Linked DNA regions of Homo sapiens: all the other regions are linked to region 6. The links are contacts of gene promoters, found by promoter capture Hi-C in blood cells and fetal thymus (Javierre and others, 2016). All regions are on one chromosome and are shown on one strand. Each heading gives the region's core, a stretch centred on a gene start or on the middle of the fragment in contact. The rest is flanking DNA. Distances are from core to core; before and after follow the strand shown. Region 1 has its middle 71 kb from the start of LINC02725. Region 2 overlaps LINC02725 (long intergenic non-protein coding RNA 2725). Region 3 overlaps LINC02725 (long intergenic non-protein coding RNA 2725). Region 4 has its middle 7.5 kb from the start of LINC02725. Region 5 has its middle 53 kb from the start of LINC02725. Region 6 holds the start of KCNJ1 (potassium inwardly rectifying channel subfamily J member 1). Region 7 has its middle 12 kb from the start of LINC02098.

Evidence for each region. The method cuts DNA at HindIII sites, captures the fragments that hold promoters and counts their contacts. A CHiCAGO score of 5 or more calls a contact.
Region 1: a contact is called between a fragment that was not itself captured here and the fragment with the promoter of KCNJ1 in region 6, in 4 of 17 cell types (activated CD4 T cells, naive CD8 T cells, M2 macrophages and 1 more). The highest score is 6.3, in activated CD4 T cells.
Region 2: a fragment that was not itself captured here is called in contact with the fragment with the promoter of KCNJ1 in region 6 in 2 of 17 cell types (activated CD4 T cells and non-activated CD4 T cells); the score reaches 5.8 in activated CD4 T cells.
Region 3: a fragment that was not itself captured here is called in contact with the fragment with the promoter of KCNJ1 in region 6 in 7 of 17 cell types (neutrophils, non-activated CD4 T cells, total B cells and 4 more); the score reaches 11.2 in neutrophils.
Region 4: a fragment that was not itself captured here is called in contact with the fragment with the promoter of KCNJ1 in region 6 in 1 of 17 cell types (monocytes); the score reaches 5.5 in monocytes.
Region 5: a fragment that was not itself captured here is called in contact with the fragment with the promoter of KCNJ1 in region 6 in 1 of 17 cell types (non-activated CD4 T cells); the score reaches 7.0 in non-activated CD4 T cells.
Region 7: a contact is called between a fragment that was not itself captured here and the fragment with the promoter of KCNJ1 in region 6, in 2 of 17 cell types (neutrophils and monocytes). The highest score is 6.3, in neutrophils.

The regions. Positions count from the first base shown.
Region 1 is chr11:128,022,859-128,026,441 of GRCh38, forward strand. No RefSeq gene overlaps it. Among named protein-coding and RNA genes, the nearest start is that of LINC02725, 71 kb to the right of the region's middle. The HindIII fragment of the contact is 1,678 bases long and covers 1,395-3,072 here.
Region 2 is chr11:128,135,047-128,138,797 of GRCh38, forward strand. All of the region lies in intron 2 of LINC02725 (long intergenic non-protein coding RNA 2725), which reads left to right. Among named protein-coding and RNA genes, the nearest start is that of LINC02725, 41 kb to the left of the region's middle. The HindIII fragment of the contact is 4,086 bases long and covers 1-3,751 here.
Region 3 is chr11:128,174,661-128,177,954 of GRCh38, forward strand. All of the region lies in intron 4 of LINC02725 (long intergenic non-protein coding RNA 2725), which reads left to right. Among named protein-coding and RNA genes, the nearest start is that of LINC02098, 32 kb to the right of the region's middle. The HindIII fragment of the contact is 382 bases long and covers 1,333-1,714 here.
Region 4 is chr11:128,086,500-128,090,104 of GRCh38, forward strand. No RefSeq gene overlaps it. Among named protein-coding and RNA genes, the nearest start is that of LINC02725, 7.5 kb to the right of the region's middle. The HindIII fragment of the contact is 2,694 bases long and covers 867-3,560 here.
Region 5 is chr11:128,040,868-128,044,443 of GRCh38, forward strand. No RefSeq gene overlaps it. Among named protein-coding and RNA genes, the nearest start is that of LINC02725, 53 kb to the right of the region's middle. The HindIII fragment of the contact is 5,296 bases long and covers 1-3,576 here.
Region 6 is chr11:128,865,534-128,869,129 of GRCh38, forward strand. KCNJ1 (potassium inwardly rectifying channel subfamily J member 1) reads right to left here and starts at 1,763. Exons shown (of 3, transcript NM_153766.3): 1 at 1,640-1,763. LOC107984409 (a long non-coding RNA gene) reads left to right here. Exons shown (of 3, transcript XR_001748442.2): 3 at 1,217-1,646. The HindIII fragment of the contact is 3,543 bases long and covers 1-3,454 here.
Region 7 is chr11:128,195,320-128,198,602 of GRCh38, forward strand. No RefSeq gene overlaps it. Among named protein-coding and RNA genes, the nearest start is that of LINC02098, 12 kb to the right of the region's middle. The HindIII fragment of the contact is 5,347 bases long and covers 1-3,283 here.

The DNA of each region.
Region 1 (3,583 bases), core at 984-3,483, 840 kb before region 6:
ATGATAGATAGGTGATAGATGTAGAGAAAGATAAATGATAGTGATAGATAGATGATTGATAGGTGACAAATATAGACAGATGATAGATATTATAGGCATATGATTGATAAATAGATGACAGATATAGATGGATGATAGATAGATAGATGACAGATATAGACAGATGATAGATAGGGGATAGATATAGAGAAAGATAAATGATAGATAGTGATAGATAGAAGATTGATAGGTGACAAATATAGAGAGATGATAGATATTATAGGTAGATGATTGATAAATAGATGACAGATATAGAGGATGATAGATGATAGATCGATGATAGATAGATAGAGGATGTGTATATAGATCCATAGATCTCTACAGCTATGCACATTCCATTGGTTATGATTCTCTGGAGGACCCTGACTAATACAGATTCATAATGGAGAGCATTTCAAAGCATTCTAGCATCACAGAGAAGAGATTTATTCTGCCTGAGGGATCAGGATGAATTTACATCAGCGGTAGCACTTAGGATACTCTTTCAAGGACAGACAAATTGAAGTTCCACAGATGAGGAAGGAAAATAATTTTTTTCAGGCAAAGGGAATAAGCAGATATGATCTGATCAGAGACACTATGCAAACAGAGTGACCTTCAATAACTCTAGTCTATGGTGCCTGGGATGGCACATGCTGAATGAAAGCTGAGATAGAATGAGACAAAGTTACTGAGGACCTGTTGTAAAGGACCTTGATTGCTCAAGGTTTGTCCTTCCTCAGAGACACTAAGATCTCTGATGTCCTAGGCATGAATGCATAGTGTGAAATGAAGTCAAGAAGTGACAAGTTTGATTTCCTTAGAAGGCTGCTTGGGATAGACAGGTAAACATTAAAAGGCTGCTACAATTTTTATTTCAAATTCTAATAAGAATTATCTGTAGGTGTGAAGACTAGCAGTGGGTCACAGAGCACCCCAGAGACAAAGAAATAGAAACAGTCTTCTCTCTGCTATCCTCTGATATCTTCATAAGAGTGAGTACAGCAGGATGGTTGAGAAGCTTGGTTCTGCCATCAAACTGCACTAAGTCGGTATCTCTCCACTACTGGTTAAGTCACCTTGAACAAATTATTCTCTAAACCCCAGTTTCTTCACTTATAAACCAGATCTAATAATAGTACTTGCTTCATATGGCTGTTGAGAGGATTAAATGAGATCAGACATGGGGGTGCTTGGCCCAGCACTGAGCACCTTGTAAAAGCTCACTAAGCATTATTTTTTAATGCAAAAAGGATACTAGAGAAAGATGCTAGCACTGTTTAACATAAGCATGGACATTTTTTTAAAGATTAGTTTCTAATACCATCCTAACCCTTTTGTCAAGTGGGCTTGCTGGTATATTGATCAGAAACATAAGCTTCTGTTCTTCAAAGATGGCCCATTAGGGTTACAATTGTGTTCTTGTTTTATCAAAGGGAAGAAGGAAAGACACTACTAATGCTAATGGTGTCAACTAATAATTTTGGGTACAGAGAAGTCTAGAGAACACATTGCTTATGTACGTATCACTTTCTGGTGTTTACCTTACAATCAGATCCTTAGGGCTCCCAATGGGCCACTGTGAAACTAAAGGGCAGTCAGGATATCTCATTCTAATGTCATGTTTGAAAGGAAGATGCATGCCATACAATCTTCACCATCTTATACTGCCTGCCTTTTTCCTAAGAGCTCTAAATTTCTGCTGTGGGTCAAGGCTGGGAGGTGGTGTGATCAGATGGCTAAATGATTAAGAAGTAGCCTCATGAAGAGCCCGAGGCAGCCTGGCCCTCATTAATATATTCTGTTCAAGCCCCCTAGGGCAAGAATGACAACTGGAAATTATACTTGTCATCTTCCTAGAAGTTGGCATTAGTAAAGTATTTTCTCCTACAGGGTTAATGCTGGTTGAATATTCCTGGGGCATCTACAGATAGGCACTGTATGATCAGTGGAGATATTTTAAACCACCACAAATTTGCACAGGTGTAAATACGATGATTCAAATAAGTGGACACACATTTACACATACGTACACCCACACTTAAATACCACACCACATCCCCAAGTGTCGTATGACATCTAAGGCTTCCCTGTCTATCATCTGTAAGAGGAGTCCACAGATGAACCTATCTCAGGTGAGACTCTCCTGAGCTCAACACTTAGCTCTCTCTGAGTCCCTGGTCTCCCCATAAAGAAGAAGTTTTAAGAGGGTTGTGAAGCCATTTGACTGCCAGGAAACTCACAGCCAGATTTTGTGCTCAACTGCAGCAGCTATCCTAGGATTAGAATTTAGGTAAGATTATCACTCTCCTTTTCTATTTCTCTGCTCTTAGCTTTTTCCGGAGGAATGCATATTATACTCCTATACCTAATTTATAACCATAGAAGTTATCCTCAAAGGCCTTCATGGCCATAAATCTCATGAATCCTGTCCCATCCCAGAGTCATAGAGTGGATCCTATTTCTTCTAATGGCATCCCTAGTCCCTAAATACCTAACTAGGTGAAGGTTTAATTTTGAAACACACTGGTTCTCCAATGAAACAAATGCATGTAGGTCTGGGGGTTGTTTCTCTTACTTATAGATGGCTCAGACTATGACAAGGGCTTCATTCACCCAGTAGTTAAGGGAGGAAAGAACTGGAGACTAAAGACTGAAGGCAGACAGGATACTAGAGGGCTGGACCAGGGTCCTAGCCCATACATGATGCACACTGGGGTTCCCACCCAGCTCACTCTAGGACTCAATTTCCGCTTCTCTAGTAGGTCTAAATTATTTAAATCATCAATTTTCAAACATGTCTAAACTTGAAAAAATTTTAACAAAATATTGTAATGAAGCCAATAATAATAATAATAAAAGCAATAAATATTGCAAGTATTAATACAACAGATGGATACCTCAGTGTGACAGTTTCAGGAGTGAAGGGCGTTTCCCCATAGCTGCTAGCAGCTGACTGCCTCAGCTTTCAGACCTCTTTGACGACTGCCTTGGCTGAAGAAAATTGTTTCACCCAAAGTCACACATCTCCTTCTCAGGGCAGGCTTCATCTAAAGCTTGATCAATGCAGGGTTATAAAGATGTGGCTCCCTTGTTCCAATTCATGACAACTCCAGTGAACCAGCCTAGCTCTCAAGCTTCCTATGGCATTGGCTGTGAGGCTTCCTTGCAAATCAACTCAACTTTCTGTCCAATCTTGCTTCCTCTCCCTCTTTCCCCCATGTGTTGATCCAACAATACTCTCTGATACACATTCTGCTCTCTTATCTCTGCCTCAGGGTCTGCTTCCTGGGAACCTACTTGTGATTTTAACTAACATTCATTGCAACCTATTGCTTCAGGATCTGTGATAGGCTTTCCGCATGCATCATCTCATTTAACCCCTTTAACAGTCTTGCACAGGAAGGTAAAATGGGGTACAGGATAATATTGTAGGTACAGCACTCCCCCATATCTGTGGGGAATATGTTTCAAGACCCCCAGTGGATGCCCAGTGGGGAATATGTTTCAAGACCCCCAGTATGAAACCTGATTGCTGTCAATTGGAACATATTTTTGTTCGTGT
Region 2 (3,751 bases), core at 726-3,225, 730 kb before region 6:
AATATCCTTTCAGAGAAGAATGTTATGACTAAAGCGCTTAACACAAAGCCTCAAATATAATAAGCATTTGATTGATGGCAACTGTTATTACCACCATCTTAAATAATATCATTATTAGTAGTTGGTTATGAAATAAGACAAGTACAACACATAATGCAAAAAATCTGTCCCCTAAAAACTCCACAGAGAGTAACAAACAATATTCATATTCTTGAAAAAACTTTTTTCTCAAGGACGTATCTTTGTGGTGTGTGAGTATGTACTTGCGTGTCTGTGCATCTAGCTATAAAAAAGTGTGTGTGTTTTATGTTGAGAGTGTGTGGATGGGAGTGGTTTCTTGCATTCACATTTCAGTTTTATATGTTACCTCAATTTGACAACTGAAAAGAACCAGTGAGGTTAAGCATCACAGGGAGAAGAAATCCATGGTTGAGAAATAGGTTGATTTTGTCACATACTGTTGGCTCAAGGTTGTGAAAATTAAGTGTAGGAATGTTGCTTTCTTTTTCCTTCTGGCAAATGAAAAGGCCAAAGCTCAGAATTGTTGGAAATGACAGTCCAATTAATCAGGCTCCATGCTTCAAACTAGGTGCTGAGCCTGTCCATGGTTGTGAAATTTTTAAATGACCCCTTTGTCCTCGGTGGTGCCAAAGTGAAATTCCTTTGGGATCACTTGCTTCTTGGCACCTGGTATCTGACCAACAAGAATGCGAGACAAAAGGTTCTTTCAAAAAAAAGAGACCAAGCTGTGCTTTTGTTTCCTCTGAAAGAAAAAGGTAATTTTACAGAAATACAGCAGGATTATCCAACTACACTATATGCCTCTGGCAGGTATCGCTCTATAAACAACTGAATCCAGTTAGACCTACAAATGTTGACTCCATTTTTTAGAATGCCAACAGAAAAGAAGGATTGTAATATTCTTAGACTTTTAGAATGGAGAGTCGAGATCAAATCTTCTTTTCTTCTACTCCCTGAATTTCTTTTGTCATATGGGGAACAATTTTTTTATTAAATGGAGAACAAAGAGATAAAATTAAATGTCTAAGATAGCACAGGAAGATACAGTTAGAATGAAAACCATGATCTCCTAATTCCCAAGCAAAGTCTTTGCACCCTAATGGACCCCCAACAGTAGAGACCTGTGAACTCTCTTCTTCCAATGCTGGAGAAACAACATTGAAATCAACCTAGAGATATAGCCTGCTTTACAAAGTTAATTTAGGATTTCCAAATACTTCATCTCAATTGCTCCTGACTACATAACTATGAAATAAATTGGACAAGTATCATAGGCATTTTATGCACAAGCAAACAGACTCAGAAATGTTAAGGAACTTGGCCTAAAGTCTCAGGAAGCTGAGTATCCTCTCCAGGTCTCCTAACTCCAAATCGATTTTGTACTAAGATGGGATGGAATTATTTCAAAAGAAACATGACAGAAGAACAGAGATTTTTTTTGTTTGTTTGTTTCTTTCTTTCTTTTTGAGACGGTGTCTCGCTCTGTCACCCAGGCTGGAGTGCAGTGGCGCGATCTCGGCTCACTGCAAGCTCTGCCTCCCGGGTTCACGCTATTCTCCTGCCTCAGCCTCCCGAGTAGCTAGGACTACAGGGGCCCGCCACCACGCCCGGCTAATATTTGTATTTTTAGTAGAGACGGGGTTTCACCGTGTTAGCCAGGATGGTCTCAATCTCCTGACCTCGTGATCTGCCCACCTTGGCCTCCTAAAGTCCTGGGATTACAGGCGTGAACCACCGCACCCGGCCAAGAACAGAGTTGTTAAATAGCTTACCTGAAGTTATACAGCCATCTCAGATTAAATAACTTTTCCCTGGAACATGAGTGATTGATAATGGAGGCCTTTTATTGCCTTTTAAAGAAAATGTCAGCATTGATGGTTGGTAATTTACCAAAGAGGGTAAAATGTGCCTAGCCTGCCACTAACTCGCTCAGTGAATGCTTTTTTGTCACTTATTGTATGCTTGAGAATTTTGCTGGACACTTTATGTACACTTAAAATTTACCTCCTTTGAACTCTATGAGTTAAGTAGGACTAATCCAATTTTTCAGAGGAGGAATTGAGGCTTTGAGAGAACAACAAAGTTTCCAAGTCATATTGCTGAAGAACCAAGGTATGCATCAAGGTAGAGCATGATGAAAGTTATTTGAGGCCTTGTAACTATTTATGGCTTTTTATGACTTGACGCAGGTCCTAGCCTCCATGCTAAGGAAAAGACAATCAATGGATTGGAATTTAAAACCCAAGTCTAACCTATTTTAATGTCTATACCCTTTCCTCTACTGGCCAATTTCTTTGCCATAAAGAGTACTATTGATCTAAAGTTTCTCTTCTGAATAGGAATAACAGGACCATTTCCAGCCCTTTGAAGATCTCTACAGACAATACATTTTCATAAAATAATAGTTATTTTCCTATTGAATCACATTGCCTTATTACTTCTACAATTTTGACTTCATTCATTTAACCTCTCTATAGACTGCACAATTTGCCTTCCCCACACGAATATTATTGTGCTATTCTAATACCTGTGGAAGTTAAAACGACACAGTCATCTATTGAATAGGGAGTTGGATCATTACAGCCCAGTTTAGAAAGTAATTTTCCCAAGACACGCTTTATTTAAAGTCAGGGAAGAAGCCTCCATTATAAATGCTTTCCACTGTAAAGGGTAATGAGTTGCCCGGAAGCTCTGATTAGCTGATTTCCCCTGTGTACTCCCTGCAATGGGCAAATCAGTGCTGACTCAGTCACTGCCTACTTGGCCTCAGTTATATGGCTCTATTTGACTTGTTCTTGGTTCACCACCTTCTTTCCCTAACTCTCTCCAGGGCAGTAGTCGCTCAACTGATTTTCTCACCCCAACAATTATCTTGATAAGTTGAGGCCTGACAGAGAGCCCAGGAAGTGCCCTGTTCCATGCCCAACAAGGACATCTTGGTGGCTCTGCGACAGCTATGTCTTGTGAATTGCATTTGTAGGATGTCGGAAATCTCTGCTATGTCTCTAGAAACATAAGCAAATAATCATTCCAAATAGACATAGGGCTAAATTTACTGAAGTGTATGCTTGGAAATACTAGCTCTTTCTGTGGTCACCTTTTGTGGTCATTATTTGACAAACAGTCCTCAGCAGGTACACAGAAAGCACTCTACTTCCTATCGCAGAGATTAGCACTGAATATTAACATAAATGATGGGAGAAATTCTATAGTAAAGAAATTCATGGCCGGGCGTGGTGGCTCACGCCTGTAATCCCAGCACTTTGGGAGGCCGAGGTGGGTGGATCACAAGGTCAGGAGATTGAGACCATCCTGGCTAACACAGTGAAACCCCGTCTCTACTAAAAATACAAAATAGCCGGGCGTGGTGGTGGATGCCTGTAGTCCCAGCTACTTGGGAGGCTGAGGCAGGAGAATGGCTTGAACCCCGGAGGCGGAGCTTGCAGTGAGCCGAGATCGCGCCACTGCACTCCAGTCTGGGCGACAGAGCGAGACTCCGTCTCAAAAAAAAAAAAAAAAAAATTCATCTGGTTTTATTCAACGCAGTCATTACTAAAGTTACTTGACCATGGAACTGGGATTTTCAGTGAACACTAATAAACACCTTCTAGCACTACTTGTTCATGGAATGTACTTTCCGAAATTCTAGATGAGGGAAATTTTTGTTTTACCTAAGAGCTCTTTCTGTTCCCAAATTGTAAGAATGTTAATTAAACTGAAAGTGGTTCAT
Region 3 (3,294 bases), core at 274-2,773, 690 kb before region 6:
TGACATTGCAACAGATGGCGCTTTGGAAGAGATTCCTTTCTGAACTGCCTGGCCCTCTTATGGAAATCCTGTGAGGGGTGATCTCTGGTGACCAGGCTCAGCAGGAAGAGGAATGTGCATCCGACCTTGTGCGGAAGGTGTCCCCCAGCTGTTTTTGCAAATATCTGTTTTGTCACGGGGGTGGCTAGGTCACAAAACCTAGAGTGGCTCATGGCTTCATAGTAATATAAGTCTACCAACCTCCAAGACAGACTTCAAATCTCACTGTCAAAAGCACCTAATTGCTACATCTACTGAGCCCAGCAGGTCCTATGATAAAATTCAGTGCATTACATACTGACCTAATTCTTATCTATTCCTTTCCCAAACCCTTTTTCCATCTTCCTTTGCCTTCAAAATCAGGAATATGAAACTGTATCCATACAGCATTGCCATGTAAATTACTGGATGCACAGATACATTTGAATTGCAGATCAACAACTCATTTTTTAGTATAAGCACAGGACATGCTCACACTGAAAAATACTTGTTGTTTGTGTGCAATTCAAATGTGACTGGGCATTCTGTGTTTTTATTTGCTAAATCTGGTGACCCTAACCCATACAACAGCAAATCTATATTTTATTAAAGTATAAATGAGTACATTATTGTATATAACAGCTGTATTGAACGATTTTTGAATAGAAAAAGTCAAACTATGTTCCAAACATCTTTTAAATCTTTTTATAAGGCCAGGGATCCCTTTGTAATTAGTAAAACGAAAGCACCCCTGGATTTGTATAAACTCAGGTTTCCATACCTCAGATCCGTTTGAAGTGAAGCACTCTCAAATTCCCTCAGTTAGTGATAATGGTGGTCCTTACAGGAAGTACCTTTGTTTCATTCCCTAACATTTGTTTTCCTCACCAAGGTGTTACCATTAACTTTGAATGGGTCAAGTTCATGCTCCCCCAATGCTGCCTCTTTATTGACTTGTCCTGCTCTATGTGGATGAAGAGGCTCCAGAGATCCTAAAGCTGTACTCTGGACATAGCTTAGTGGCAAGCACAGGGAAAAGTGTACAGAGGAAGACAATAGGCTGGAATCGGAGGCTTCCAAAAATAAAATTGATTTTCTTTCTTTAAGAATTCCCAACTTTGTCTTAGGGACAAAGCCGCTGGATTTAGCAAATAAAAATACAAAGCACCCAGTTAAATTTGAATTTCAGATAAACAACAAGTAATGTTTTAATATAAATGTCTTGTGTATTGCATGAGATACCCTTATACTTAAACATTACTCATAGTTTATCTTAAGTTCAAATTTAACTGGCATCTTGTGTTTTATCTGGAAAGCTTACCTGGTAACATGGGGAGCTGCTTGCTGTCCTCAGCACTGAGGTGTAAAATATGTAGGATGACTGGCACAAAATAGGCAACAACAATAGCAACAAATAAACAGTCACAACAGCAGTAGCAGCACTCAACAAACGCCAGCCTGGATAGATTTCCTTTAAGGCCCAAGAAACGGTTTCCAAGTGCTCCTCTCAAGCTGGGCTCTTCCTTTATATTGCCCCCTGCTATGGTTTCAGTGTGTCCCCTCCAAAATTCAGGTGTTGCCTATGTGATGGTTTCAAGAGATGGGGTCTTTAAGAGGTAATTAGGTTTCTTCATCTGAAAAATGGAATTGATGATGGTAATAGCCTCCCAGCATTCATCCCAGGATATTCATGAGAAGCTTTACCATTCAAGGGCCTTGTGTATGTAAATGATTATGCTACACTTATTTTTCAGGTCTGGTTTCCTCTAATAATAGAAACAATAAACTGTTTGATATTTCTTGGCATCATTAATAAATCAAAAGTATGTTCCCCTTGTGTTCTATATTTTGCAAAATAATGAGGAAAAGAAAGAACAGGGTTACTGAGCTCTTCGTTGGAATTTTCAGGGAGTTTTGGGTAGAAATTAAAACCAAGAGTAATTAAAGCAGCAGTTCACTGACTGAATGATCATCAGACTCAACTGTAGACCAGGTAGAACTTGAACGCCCAGATCCAGCATACACTTGCTGAATTAGGATGTTTTGGGGTGTAACTTGGAAGTGTGTCCTTTGTAAAAGTTCCATAGGTCATTCTGATGATCAGCCAGGCTTGGGAATGACTGATCTAGGTGGAGGATAAATACGGGTTACCTGATCGATGTGATGTCTTAATTAGTAGATACATGTAACAATTGCTCCCTTTTCACCATTTCCACATGCCTTCCTCTCCCAGGAAGAAATGGCCACAACTCACCACTCACAACCCCAGATCTGTTTAGTTCCTTCATTCTTACCATGTTATAATCTGGCCAGCCAGAGGATTTAGGAATTGATTAATTTAGGAATCTAAATTGATAATTTAGAGAGATATCTAGGAGGTAAAAGTCAGGAGGATTTGATAGTAGATTGAAAGTGAAGAGGGAGAAGAAAATGGTAAGAAGAATGACCTGTTTTCTTGTTTGAGCAACAGAGTATGTGAACACATGGATCCTTCTCAGAGAGATGGAATTTAAAACAAGAGGGTGGAGTCAATTGTTTTAGTAGATACGTGTGACAATTATTCCCTTTTCACCATTTCCCCATGCCTTCCTCTCCCAGAAAGAAATGGCCACAACTAAGAAATAAGAAACAAGTTTGGAGATGCAGGCAAAGTCTCTATTCACCCACTCATTCAACCATCCAATTATATCCTTCAGCACTAACAGAGAAAAACCTCTTCAGACACTGGTGCTTTCCACAGCTCTTCTCAGGGGTCAGTCTGGTAATGAGTTTGGGACTTCAAAACATGCCATGCAGCCAGGCAAACTGCTCCTCTATAGTAGTCATGAGGACCTCCACACTCCTGAGCCCAACAGACATCTTTCAATTCTCATGGTACCTGACAACTGCATTGCATTTGATAGGGTTCTTTCCATTCTCCTGGTTTATTTTCATTTCTCCAAATATAGTTTTTTTTCCCTATCACGTCCTCCACCAATTTGACCTCTTCAGTTGGAATTCCTCAAGCCTCAGTTTTGAGCCCCCTTTTCCTCTTACTCTATGCTTTCTGTCAAAACATTTGACTCCACACTCTTGTTTTAAATTCCATCTCTCTGAGAAGGATCCATGTGTTCACATACTCTGTTGTTCAAGAAAGAAAACATGTCATTCTTCTTGCCATTTTCGTCTCTGTCTTCACTTTCAATCTACTACCAAATCCTACTGACTTTTGCATCCTAGATAGCTCTCTAAATCATCAATTTCATTTTGTTTCTACCATCATCATCCAAACCCAAG
Region 4 (3,605 bases), core at 964-3,463, 780 kb before region 6:
GCTCCAGCAGGAATTGCCTCCCTAGCTACCTGTAGTGGCAGTTATGAAGTTGTCTGCCCTACTGTCCACGTGTTTGCCAAGACAACAGGAGGCTGTGGCTGCCAGCCGAGTCCCGGGAGAAGTGGGACAACTGAGCTGGAATCTCTTGCTGAGCCCTGTCCAGGAAAGGGCCATTGTGACTGTGGCCTCTGTTGGGAATATGGCACCAGTATTGGTCTGCTCTGGGGCTCATGTCTTGTAGTTTCTTTTGGATTGGAGAGTTTCTCTTGCAAAACATCCAGGTAGCTCTCTGTCTCAGTCTAGAAACATGTTGGGTGAGTGTAAAGGGGCCAAGAGGATTCTCCCATTCTCAGTCTTGCACAGGTCCCTGTGAAGAGTGTGAATCCCCCAGGAGGCTCTCACTCACTCACCCTTTCCCATGTTGTAGGAGTTCTCCTGACTTCATGCTGAACCCAGACAGGCTGGTGTCTACCTCTACTCCTGTCTGCTCTCTGTGTCCCCCTGCTGCCTTGATGAATCCCAACATGATTTCTCAGATGATCAGCCTGCAAGGTCAAGGTTCACTACCCATTTTGTTTTCTCTCTATGAAAGTAGCTCACGTGAGCTGCTTCTAGTCTGCCGTATTGGCCCATCCCTCAAGTATTTTCTTTTATGATTAATGTTATTTCTGTCATCTATGGACCTGGCATTTACATTTAGAACTACACTCTATTTCAAATTGACTTTTGTATATGGAGTGAGTTCAGGATTACAATTTTTATTTTTACAAATGAAAATACAGTCCTTCCGTAAAATATGGTAAAAATAATTTTCTTTCTTTATTGAGTTGACAACTTTGTCGAAAACCAATTAGATATAAATATGAAGCTTTATTTCTGGACTCTTTATTCAATTCCAGTGATCCATTTATGTAATATTGCACCAATACTACCAATAGTAACTGTGTCTTCGTTACTATGGCATTATATTGAATTGAAAATAAGATAAAGTTCTTCAAAGTTGTTCTTTCGACCTTCAAGATTATTCTGTTCTTATATATGCTTTGAATTCCTAAATAAATTATAAGTTTTCTTATCAAAATGCTAGTATTGGCTGGGTGCAGAGCTTCATGGCTGTAATTCTAGCACTTTGGTAGGCCTAAGGGGGCAGATCATTTGAGGTCAGGAGTTTGAGACCAGCCTGGCCAACGTGGTGAAACCCCATTGGCTCTACTAAAAACTACAAAAATTAGCTGGGTCTGGTGGCGGGTGCCTGTAATCCTAGCTACTTGGGAGGCTGAGGCGCTAGAATCACTTGAACTCAGGAGGCAGAGGTTGCAGGGAGCCAAGATCACACCATGGCACTCCAGCCTGGGTAACACTCCATCTAAAAAAAAAAGTAGTATTTTTTATTAGAATGGTGTTAAATCAATCAATATGTGCATTCTACATTATGTACCTCTTGATAATACTGTCTTCTGACCTATGAACATGATATATCAATCCACTTATATATGTCTTCTTTTATTTCTCTCAGCACTATTTTATTTTTCACCTCTTGCATGTGTTTTAAGGACTTTTTTTGGTATTAAATTTTTATGCTGATGTAAATAGAATTGCTGTTTAAAAATTCATTTTCCAATTGTTGGTTGTTGGGTGTCTTAGGGGTTTTTTGTGCTACTACAGTGGAATGCCTGAGGCTGGATAATTTATAAAATCATAATTTTTAATATAGTTCTGAAGCCTGAGAAGTCCATAATCAAGATGCCAGTATGCTTAGTGTCTAGTGAGGGCTGTTATCTCTGCTTTCAGGATGGTACCTTGTTACTGTGTCCTCTGGAGGTGAGAAAAACTGAGTCTTTAAATAGCAGAGGGACAAAAAGGAATGAACTCCCTTCACGAAGCCCTCTTATAACAGTTTTAATTTATTCATGAAGGTGTGGCACTCATGACTTAACTACCTCCCAAAAGGCCATACTATTTAATACTGTTACATTGGAGAGTTTTTTCAAGAGATGAATTTTGAATTATAAGGGACACATTCATACTATGGCATTCTTTCCCTGCCCTCCCCCACTAATGTCCTTCTCACGTGCAATGCACCTTCACTTTATCCAAATAGCCTCAAAAGTCTGTACTTGTTCCAACATCAACTCAAAAGTCTAAAATCCAGATTTCCATCTAAGTAAGTCAGAAATGGGTGAGACTCAAGGAACAATTCATCCAGAGGCAAATTTCTCTTAAACTGTGGGCCTGTGAAATGAGCAAGTTATGTACTTCTAAATACAATGGTGATACAGGCATAGAATAGACATTCCTGTTCCAAAAGGAATAAATAGGTAAGAAGGAAGAGGTAGCAGGTCCCAACTAAGTTTAAAACCTAACAGGGATAACAACATTAAATGATAAGGCTAGAGAATAGTCTTTTTGAACTCCATGTCCCACCAAGAGGACACACATGGGTGGGGATGCTCCCCTCCCCTACAGCTTCACTGACTGCAGCCCATGCCACAGCTCTCAGAGATAGTTAGGTGTCTACAGTCCTCCCAGGCAGGAGTTGCATGTTGGTGGCTCTATAGTTAACAGGCCTTGGGGATAGTTCTGACCCCACAGTTCTTCTGGACATTGTCCTAGCATGGACTGTATTTGGAGCCCCCACCTCTGCTATATAGTTCTCTGCCTCAGGAAGGCTGTCTGAGATATTCTTTGAAGTGTAAGTAGAGGCAGCCATACTTCCACAGCTTGTGTGCTCTGCATTCCACATAGATGATGCCAAAGTTTAAGGCATGTGCCCTTAAGTCACATCTCAAGTCACACCTAGGCCCACCTGCACCACAGCTAGGGTGGCCAAGAAGTAATACACTGGAATACAGAGAACAGAGAGCTAAGGTATCACAAGCACCCTAGGAACCTCTCCCCAAACTATTCTGACCCCAAGGTGAGGGAACTCTGGGCCTGTGATGCGCATGGCAGCCTGGAAGATCTTTCAAATGCCTTTAAGTTCATTCTACTACTTTCGTTATGAATAGTACATGGCTTTCTTCTATTTATACTAATCTTTTTATAAAATGATCTCATGTCTACATCCTTGATTTCCTTTCCTAAGCACACATTTTTTTTTCTTTACATGGCCAGGCTAATTTTCCAAATCTTTACAATCTGCTTCTCTTTTAATTATAAATTTTATCTTTAAATTATTTATTCCTTCTTCCCTTTTACTATAAGCAGTTGAAAGAAGCCATGCAGCATCTTAAGTGCTTTGTTGTTTAGATATTTTGCTGACAAATACACTAGTTAATCACTCTTCAGTTCTTCCTTCCACAGGGTCCTAGGTCACATATAATTCAACCAAGCTCATTGCCCCTTTTTAACAAGGATGGTTGTATCTCCAGTTTCCAATACCTTGTTCCTCATTTCCACCTAAGATCTCATCAGAATAGCCTTTACTCTCCATATTTCTACCAACATTCTTTTCATGACCACTTAAATAATGTCTAAAAAGGCAAGTTTTTCCCTATATCTCTCCTCTTCTTCTGAGCCCTTGTCAGAATTGTTCTTAATGCTCTGCTCATGGTAATACAAGCTTTTTTCTGCATGAATTTCAAAACAGTTTCACCTTCTACCCA
Region 5 (3,576 bases), core at 156-2,655, 830 kb before region 6:
AACATGTTGTTTTAAAATTCTTCAGTGGGAGACTAATATTTCAACACATTTGAATGACTTCCTTGCAGCAAAATGCTTAGGCTTAAAACATGAAGCTGGATAAGTAACAGGAGCTTCCAAGAGAAAAATCACTCAACTTATATATACTCCATGGCCAAGAAATTCAGGGTCCGTAGTTAGACACGTTCCCAGCAAGCCCACCTCATGTTGTCTGTTCTCAAGAGGGATGACTTTGGGTTGGACCTACTTTTCAAATAAAACTGTTAGGTTAGTGAGAGACAAATTTCAGATTCCTAGTTTCTCATGATGCAATGACTGAGGAAATTAATGTTTAAATGACAAAATTTGATTTTCTGACAATTAGGGAAATAAAGATAAATACTTCTATCCAACCCCTACACAAATCCATACATTGATTGTACAGTGATTTAGTGAGAGCCTACATGAAATAAGTCTTGTGGCTAGAGTTTCATCTACTGAATTTAAGTGATGAATCAGTTGCATAAAATTAGAAATCCTCTAATTTGAGTAGAGAGAATATGATCTTCATTTTTATAATGAAATTGCTCGGTGGGGGGAACTACACTTATTAGATCAATGCCCATAACCAGAATGTTGGTTTTTTCCCAACATTTATTAATTCTTTACTTACTGTAAGACATATTATTATTTTGGCTTTTGTTTGCACGACCTTTTGTTTCTTTTAAAATTATTTTTTAATGTATTGTTAATATTATTTTTGATTGACAAAACATAAATATATACATTTATAGAGTACAATGTGATATTTGGATATACGTACACAATGTGGAATGTTTTGTTTCTGATTCTTCAATAGAAATAAAATGATAATAATTATTATTATAAAAGCACATGAAAGAATGGAAATTCCAATAGGCAATCTAGACTTCTAGACTGGAGAGGACTTTATGAATATCCCTAGGTCTCTCATGAATAATCAAGGTCTGTTGTATAAGGATTTGTGAGAAAACAAGACTATAAACAATGTGTTCTTGGGTCTTTACATTTGTACATAAAAAAGTCTTTCCATGAAGTAAGTATGATTATTTATTCTTCATGATGTCTATTAGAAGTGAAGGTAAATGTGAAAGTGGGTCTCTTTTTTTAAATGGTGATGAGAAGCCGGGACCCAGGAATACCAGAATCTTGCCCTCCAAACCATCTACCTTCCCAGCCCCCAATAGGATTCCCAAATGATCCCTGTGAAAGGATCAGTAGACAATTAACAAATAAAGTAGCATTTTATTGCAAGCTAGGTGAAGACCCAAGCCTAAAAACAGGGCTCTCTGAAATAGCTGGCTTGGCATATCTTGGCTTGAGCTAATGTCCAAATTGGGCTAAGGCTGGCATCCACCCACTCCAAAGCCCACACCTAAACTTTAGATCTCACTCCTATGATCAGCTTCATGATCAGGAAAGAAACCAAAGGATGTGGCACACAAATCAGTGGAGTAAATATTTGCATATGGTTAGAGAGAGAGTGAGAGGACACCACGGCTGCCCTAAATAATCAAGCCCAGGGGAGATGAAAGAGATAGCATGCCTGCCACATGCATGATTAATGGGCCCTGTCAGTGCTCACAGTCCAGCCCGACCAGCAACCCCACACCCCCACCACTTTTGGTGAGGGGAGCCAGGGTGGGATGGACAGAAAGGCAGGCAGTCCTCCCCATTTCCACAGCGGGGGTAGAGCAGAATGAGCCAGGACCTGGGCTTGCACTGATGGAAGCAGGCAACAAAGAAAAAAAAATAGTTACAACCTTTGGTGACCTTCTCTTCATGGCTCATGATCTGAGGACTGAGAACTAATGTTTCAAATCCATAGGTCACATTCCTGCCTGCTTCTGTCCACTCCTGCCCTAATACCTCATGCAAAGATATTCAAGGGCTACTTTTATGCTCAAAGGAAACAACAGCTCTCTCTTTTCCCCCAAGTTCTGTTCCTGCTCCAAACTCCCCCTTGATAAATAGGGAAAGACATAGTAAAAATGTTTTTTAATTTTTAATTTCTAAATAGTTTTAATGTTATATCAGTAACAACTGTAAATGATTTCTAAAGTCAAATAATTCTAAAAGTCTTAAAGTGAAAGAGTATCCTGTTCCACCCCATCCCATTCCTCAGGCATTTTATTCCACAGGTAACTCTTCTTAATTTTTCTGGTTATTTCACATGATCTTAGCTTTCATATGTCTAAATAGTATGTTTATTTTGCTAGACTTATATATATATATCTGTTATATTTACGTATATGTATATGTGTGTGTATGTGTGTGTGTATATATATATATGCCTAGCAAAAGGAAGGAATGTCAATGAAACCACAAATAGGAAGATCAAATTGGATCTCACCCATCTAAGAGAATGGATACACACACACACATACACACACACAGACATATATATATATGTATATATTTCATGTGTCTCTATGTGTGTGTATATCAATCTATCTAAGTTTTACACATTATATACTTATAACCTACAATTGGAGATGAGGATTAGCTTTTCTACACCCACTACCATCCCAGATTCACCTACTCCCAGCTTCCTAACATAGTTATATCACAGCTTTTAGTAAAATCGATAGTTCACATTCTTATGAGTATCCAAATATTGTTCACTATTCTACTTCCATCTTTCCTATAAGCCCTCTGATGCTGTTGTTGCTCTTCTTTTTGGAGTTATTTCCTCAATTTTTCATTTACCTAGTTTTCCATAAAGTAACTGATATTTTTTCAAGAATTCTAATCTCTGCCATAGGCCCAAAAGCATTATTTTTCATATACTCAGATTTGCCCTCTGTTCTAATTTGTACTATTTTCTGTGAAGGTCTTCTTTCCAGGTATAAACCTGAATATTTCTTTTGATGCTCACTTACATTAGTTATTCTTTTTGCTAGATGTAAAATTTTCCTCTTGATCTCTTTTTTCTTTAATTTTTTGTTCAAAAACATATTATAATATCATCCTGAAATAAGGTGGTAATAAGTTAGTTTTTCAGCTCCAATATATCAGAAATATTTTATCATCACATCTGATAGTGTATCTGGGTATAAAATTTGATGCTAAGAGTCTTTTCAGTCAGAATTTTAAAACTGAAGCTCCCTTGCCTTCTAACTGCCAATCTTATTGCTTAAAATACTGTTGCTGAACTAATTCCCAAGACTTTGAGAGGTAATAATCTGGAGTGGTTAAGAATGAAACCAGCTGGGTTCATATCCCTATTTAACCTACCGATTTAGCCAAGTGACATTTGACAAGTTATGTAAACTCCCTGTGTATCTCTTCCCTTCTCTGTAAAATAGGGTGTGATAAAATTCTATTCAGAATTAGTCTTTGTCTTGGTTATTATTATCTTTTGATGATTTTAATTTAGAAGGAGGAGAAAATGTTTTGGGTAAAATTCACCTTTGTGGGACCTAATTTTTTTATGGATGAACATAAGTTTCAGCTAATGATCCATAACAGAGATTTGCAGTAAAACACAGCATGTAATACTAAGCACATCCTACACACACAAATACAAACCCACTAAGTTATGGTATGTCAATTTTT
Region 6 (3,596 bases), core at 513-3,012:
AGTCATCACTGGCATCTTAAATTATGGAGCCAAGGGGAGAAACATTTGGGTCACCCTCAGGATCAAACTGCCAGGCCAGAAGCAATTCCACTGAGAGGGCACCAGGAAGCCTTCAATGCATGGAAACCCTGGAGCAAGTAAAAGGCAAAGCATGTGAGTCACAGCTGAATCCCTGGACAATCACTGAGCTGTGACAAGGTGCAGGGTAGACTCATAACCTAGCACAGAAAAACACATTACTGAGGAAAGGAAAAGAACGTGAATGGGGAATTTTGAGACTTAGCTCTTCACAGAAAAGCATGCTTGGCAATTACAAACTTCTTATATTAAAAAAAATCAGGCAAACCAAAAGTCATTAAAGCATTAAAGATTAAGACCCACTCACAAGGAATTCACATACTCTGCTTCTTTACAAGGGCAGTCTTGCACCTACACTGACTTGGTGCACCTCCTTACACAGAAGAAATCCACCTTCATGACTTGAGTATAAAAAAATGCTTTTCTGATGGCCCATACGTTCCCAGATATCTCCACCCCATCATGCTCTTAAAAGCTGAAGCTGACTTAGTGAGAATCCATTTACACTAAACAGTGTAGAGTAAGACAACACAAGCCAAGCCCATGACTGAAGGGAGCCCACAAAGACTGGGCAGCTCCTCCAATGTAACCGAAGATTCAACCAAAGATTCTAACTGCCCTCCAGCCCCAGGGCTACGGAATGGCCCAGGGAAGGCAGCGTGCAGCTCGCAACTAATAATCCAGGTACAACCAGCAGATCAAAAGCATCCAGTGAGTGGCTCTGCCAAGTCCCTGTCCATAAAAGGTCCATAGCACAATCACTATGTTTTGCTCCATTTTGTAAGCCCAGCTAAAAGGAGAAAAATTCAATCATTTTTCCTAAAGATTGCTGGTTGCGAAAGACCAACTCCTTTTAAGCGTCTATGCACCAAATCTGTAAGATACAGATATTGGGAGAAGGGGCTCCATACCTGTTCAGAGCAGAGATAAACAGTTGGCATTCACTGGTATAGAGCAATTGTCACAACAGTCATTAGGAAGCTGAACAAATGTTGAGAAATCCAAATGTATCCATTCAGAATGGTGCAAAATTCCTATAAAGTCCTACATCAGAAAATGAAAGAAAGACATTTGGGTGAAGGTAATCAAAATGTCTGGCTAACTCTTGCCTTTTCCTGATATATGTTTTCCATAATAGACCCCACTAGCACCTTGATCCTCTACCTTAAAGATGGAAACGGCTTGGCAGAGGTTGTGTTACTAGGCAAGGTCTTGCTACAATTGAAAGGATGCCACCAGAGATGAAAACCCTACATACATCTCTGCCACCAAAAGAAGACTTTGGAATCAGGCATGATGCAACCAAAGATTCTTACTGCCCTCCAGCCCCAGGGCTGCGGAGTGACCCAGGGAAGGCAAGATGCAGCACACAGCTAATAATCCACATGTAACCAGCACACCAAAAGCATCCAGTGAGTGAGTTAAAACCATGCTTCTATCTATCCCCCAGGAGTGGACAGACAAGTCTGCCTAGATTTGAGGCGGGGAAAAGAGGTCTAAATTTTCACAAGAATTAACTTCTTTTTCCTACAAAGAGACAATGAGGTGTTTCTCCTCTTACCTCATGGATTGCTGGAGTAAATGTAGAAACAAAAACTCATTTTCTTGGTCTCCAAGAAAGCAACCAGATTCTCGATGTGAGCAAGTCCCTGCACCTTTGATGCAAGAGTTTGGATATGCTAGGTGAGGGTACCCGAGGCCCTGTTGATTTTATGAGTCTGTGGGCCAGCTCAGACCGGCTGCCAACTCATCTGTATGCAACAGTTCTCAAAGAACATAGTTTACTTTATAACCGGATCCAACAAGAGTAGGCGTGGCAGTTAAGTGAGTGAGATACCAAAGGTGTTGAGCTACCAAGGCTAACTAAGAAGGATTTGTTTATGGAACCCTGGCTTGGAACCAGAAGGCCGGTATGCTCATGTCGATGTGTCTAAGTCAAAGGCATGAAGTTGAACACGTGCGCACATGAGGCTGGATGTTACAGGGCAGGGAAGTAGGGGTCCCCAAGGAGCCCCTCACAAATGTCTCCTGTCCTGTGAATCACTCAGTGGCCCTAGAACAGCAGTCCCCAACCTTTTTGGCACCAGGGACCAGTTTCATGGGAGACATTTTTTCCATGGACCAGGGAGGTGGTGGGGGAGGATGGTTTCGAGATGATTCAAACACATGACATTTATTGTGAACTTTGTTTCTACTGTGTTTACTTATAATAATTACTTTACTTCTATTATATTCTATTATATTCCTTATTTCATTATATATTATATTCTAATATATAATGAAATAATATTCTATTACATTATATAATATTCTATTCTATTCTATAATATTATAGAATGAAATAATGAATATGGGATGAAATAATGAAATATTCTATTCTATTATAGAAGGAAATAATATTCTATTCTATTCTATGAAATAATATTCTATTATATTCCTTATTTCATTATGTATTATATTCTAATATATAATATAATATATATTATGTATTATATTCTAATATATTATATAACATATATTATGTATTATATTCTAATATACTCTATAACATATATTCTGTATTATATTCTAATATATTATATAACATATATTCTGTATTATATTCTAATATATTATATAACATATATTCTGTATTATATTCTAATATATAATATATATTCTGTATTATATTCTAATATATAATATATATTATGTATTATATTCTAATATATAATATATATTCTGTATTATATTCTAATATATAATATAATATATATTATGTATTATATTCTAATATATTATATAACATATATTACGTATTATATTCTAATATGTTATATAATATATATTACGTATTATATTCTAATATATTATATAACATATATTACGTATTATATTCTAATATATTATATAACATATATTACGTATTATATTCTAATATATTATATAACATATATTACGTATTATATTCTAATATATTATATAACATATATTACGTATTATATTCTAAATATTATATAACATATATTACATATTATATTCTAAATATTATATAACATATATTACGTATTATATTCTAATATATCATATAATATATATTATGTATTATATTCTAATATATAATGAAATAATTATACAACACCACCATAATGTCGAATCAGTGGGAGCCCTGAGCTTGTTTTCTTGCAACTAGACAGTCCCATCTGGGGGTGATGGGAGACAGTGACAGATCATCAGGCGTTAGATTCTCATAAGGAGCGCACAGCCTAGATCCCTCGAATGCGCAGTTCACAAAAGGGTTCAGGATCCTGTGAGAATGTAATGCCGCTGCTGATCTGACAGGAAGCGGAGCTCAGGCAGTAATGTGAGCCATAGGGAGTGGTCAAAATACAAATGAAGCTTTGCTCACCTACCACTCACCTCCTTCTGTGCAGCCTGGTTCCTAGCAGGCCACAGACCAGGTGTGGGGACTCCTGCCCTAGAAGGTCAGGCTGACCTGACTTTCTCTTGGCCATTCACCAGCCACCCTGGTCCCGGGG
Region 7 (3,283 bases), core at 474-2,973, 670 kb before region 6:
CTTATGTAACAGTTACATAGGAAACAGCTGGGGAAGTGAGAGATCGGTACAGCCAAGGCCAGCCACAGGAAAGAAACACCCAAGCATCAATCATCATGTTCAGAAAATGACAATATTTAATTCTACCAGGAAAAAAAAAAAAAAAACTGAGGTGGTGAGGGAGCAGAGAATGGGTGAATGTCTGTCCAGGCTGTTAGACAAACATAGACTCTGGATTTATTTTGAATTTAGATAAATAATCCCTGCATCCTCAGCAGGAATTTTGTTCTGGGAAGTTTGTACTTCTGTTTACGTGCCTGCCCTGGGTCTCAGTGTGGGAGCAGGCAAATGGTTAGTGCCTGGCTTAAAGTTTACAGTGGAAAGCACTTCATCAACAAAGTGTATACATTCATTCAGCCACCCAAAAATGCAACATATATTTCTCTGGATTTTTAATTTCCAGTATCTATCAGATAAATATATGTATATTTACATTTATATATATATATGTATATATTTAAAATAAATATATTGTATATAAAAAATATATATATATATTATTTTTTCTTGCCCTCTCCAAGTTCTTAACCACTTTAATTAACTTACTAGCTCTCCCACATGATATGAGACATGATTCACCTTCTACTGGATATGAGCCTACATGAAATTCAAATAGAGAAACGTCCTTACTGTCTAAACCTGAAACCACAGGGAGAAAGAAAATAGAAAACTTTTCACATAAGACAGGTAATTTTCTTAACAACTACAGATTAATATATTTTTTGCTGTAAATTTTATAGGACATTCTGTAGCCCAATTGCAAGAGCAAATTTTTCACAATGTATGTGTAGGTTTCTACCTTCAGTTTTAGAGAATATTTAGTGAAATCAGAGATTTGTTTTATTTATTTGAATATCTTTATTGTCTGCAGTTTTATTACTTTTGGAAAAAAAGAGGAAAAATCCAGCCTCTTCTGGTTTGCAATCTAAGCTCCATTTTTTTCAGGCTATTTTAAAGAGACTTCCATTATGAAATCCATTCTCTAACATCTGCAAGACTTGTCTTTTTCTGGAAGAAGAGTGGTTATAGTAATTGAGTAATAGGGAGTGAGATATGTCTCAGCATTCTGCACATTTTATTAATCACCAAGTGGTAAATAGTAAGCCTCTGCCCTCTATTTATAGTATAATTGGATGTATTTCATGACACTGGCTACACATCTGGTCAAACTGTAAAGCACACTTGCAGCCACCTTCTCTTTTTGAACTCCTAATGTATCACAGACTACAGAAAGATGTCTGCAGATAATAACAGAAACACAAAGTAATGAAAACCTTCATGAAGGACACTTCCATGGATTGCCAGAGCATGTGTCAATCTATGAGAAACTTTGATGGATTCAGCGACCTTCTTGAATTAAACAACACAATAAAAGGTTTTAATGGTAATGTAAATTAAAAATGCAATGTTAAGTAAGGCCTTAGGGATCTTGGTGAGCAGAACTGTTGAGATGGTGTTCGCAACGGAGTCTAATTCTTTGCACAATCATACATTCACACACATCGGTATACAAACTCCTGAGTTCCCACATGTGGATTCACAATTTGTAAAAGATTCTGTTTTTCATTAGGCTGGGAAGAAATGTGTTCCACATTTCTTTAGGATTTGAATTCTTTATAGGGAGAGGGTGGAAAAAGGAATCTATCTGAATATTGGACTTCAAAAACATAAGAACCAAATAAAGAGATCTGCACTCCAGAGTATAACTAATTCCAAATTACTTTGCCCAGTGATTTTAAGAAGTGAGATTAAATGTAATAATGCCTACTTTCCCCAGGATTTGAGTTTTCTGGACAGCATTTACCAAATGGGACTGGTAGAGGGTGTAATAGTGCTAATAGAAATGGTACCATTCTTACCTTCCCTATTAGATCTTCAGTTAGATATTGGCAGCCCCATGGTGTTTGTGTTTACTAATCAATGCTAGTGGTTCCAGGAAGCATTTCACAGTATTAATGAATTACAGGCTTAATAAACCTGTTTTCCCCAATTTCATGACTTTCTAGGTCAGAAATTCTCAAATATTAATGTACCAAAGAGTCTCCTAAGTAGCTTGTGAAAAGTACAGATCCAAGCCATGCCCAAAGATGGAGTCTACATCTCAGTCTCAGATTCTGCGAGATATCCGTAGGGTATTCTGAGATACCCTACGGATAATCCAGATGCAAATGATCTCTAAAGTTCACTTTTAATAAATGCTGTTCCAGAGATATTTCCCTACTTCATCTTCTGTCTTCTCCAAAATCATAAAGCTATTGGGGGGAGAGGGTTCAGTAATTATGCTTATTCTTGATTGTTGGACAGTAAGTCACTTCAATAGCACTCCCTATAGCACCATCATATTTAGGGGCCTTAAAAAATAAGTTAGCCTTCAGTGAAACTCAATCAGTACTTAATCAATTACTCTACCCAAGGATGATTAGCATTCTTTTTGTTCTAAGACATAAATTAGATGGAGGATGAGAGTCATCAGTGAAATGGATGCCCTACTACCATAAAGTCATTTGGCATTATGTATTATAAGACATAAGTGTATTGTGATAAATTAATCCTATTATATTATTATATGACTATGTTATATTACTATTAATATGTCAAATAATTTGATATTCTTATGATAAAATGATATTCCTGCATGGTTGTATCAAATAGCTGTCAGATGAAAATTACGAGTTATTTATCTACTGTCACTAATCAATGATTTTACTATCAATAATTTGTGCTACTGGGAGATTTTATTGGAAACTATAACAAAAATAAGAGGTACTATCTATATGTTAAAAACTGATTTGATTGTATTATGCTTTTTTAGCTCTGATTACCTGAAAGTTATAAATACATTGAGTTTTTGCCCTAATTATCCAATAATTGTCTTATTTCAATATTTTATTCTGTAATTTAATATTCTGTTCCATCTATGTTCATGACTGTCACTCTCCAGAGCACATTTTTTTTCAATGAGTAAAATTACTAACAGAAAGGGGGGACTTAATTTAACAGGAAAAAAAATTATGCAAGAAAGGATTTATGGTCCTGCAGATGTTTCCAGCTGAAATACCAGCTGGCATTGTAGTTGTTTGTGTGGAGTGGAATCCCATAAGCCAATGAAAGGAGACAATCAGTTTTAGCTGACTCAAATTTTTTTATTTCCATTTTTCTAACACAGATGAATATGATGCAAATTGTTTGAAAATAAGAGCCTTACAGCTAAGTACATTACCATACTCTGTTGAAAACAAAAAAA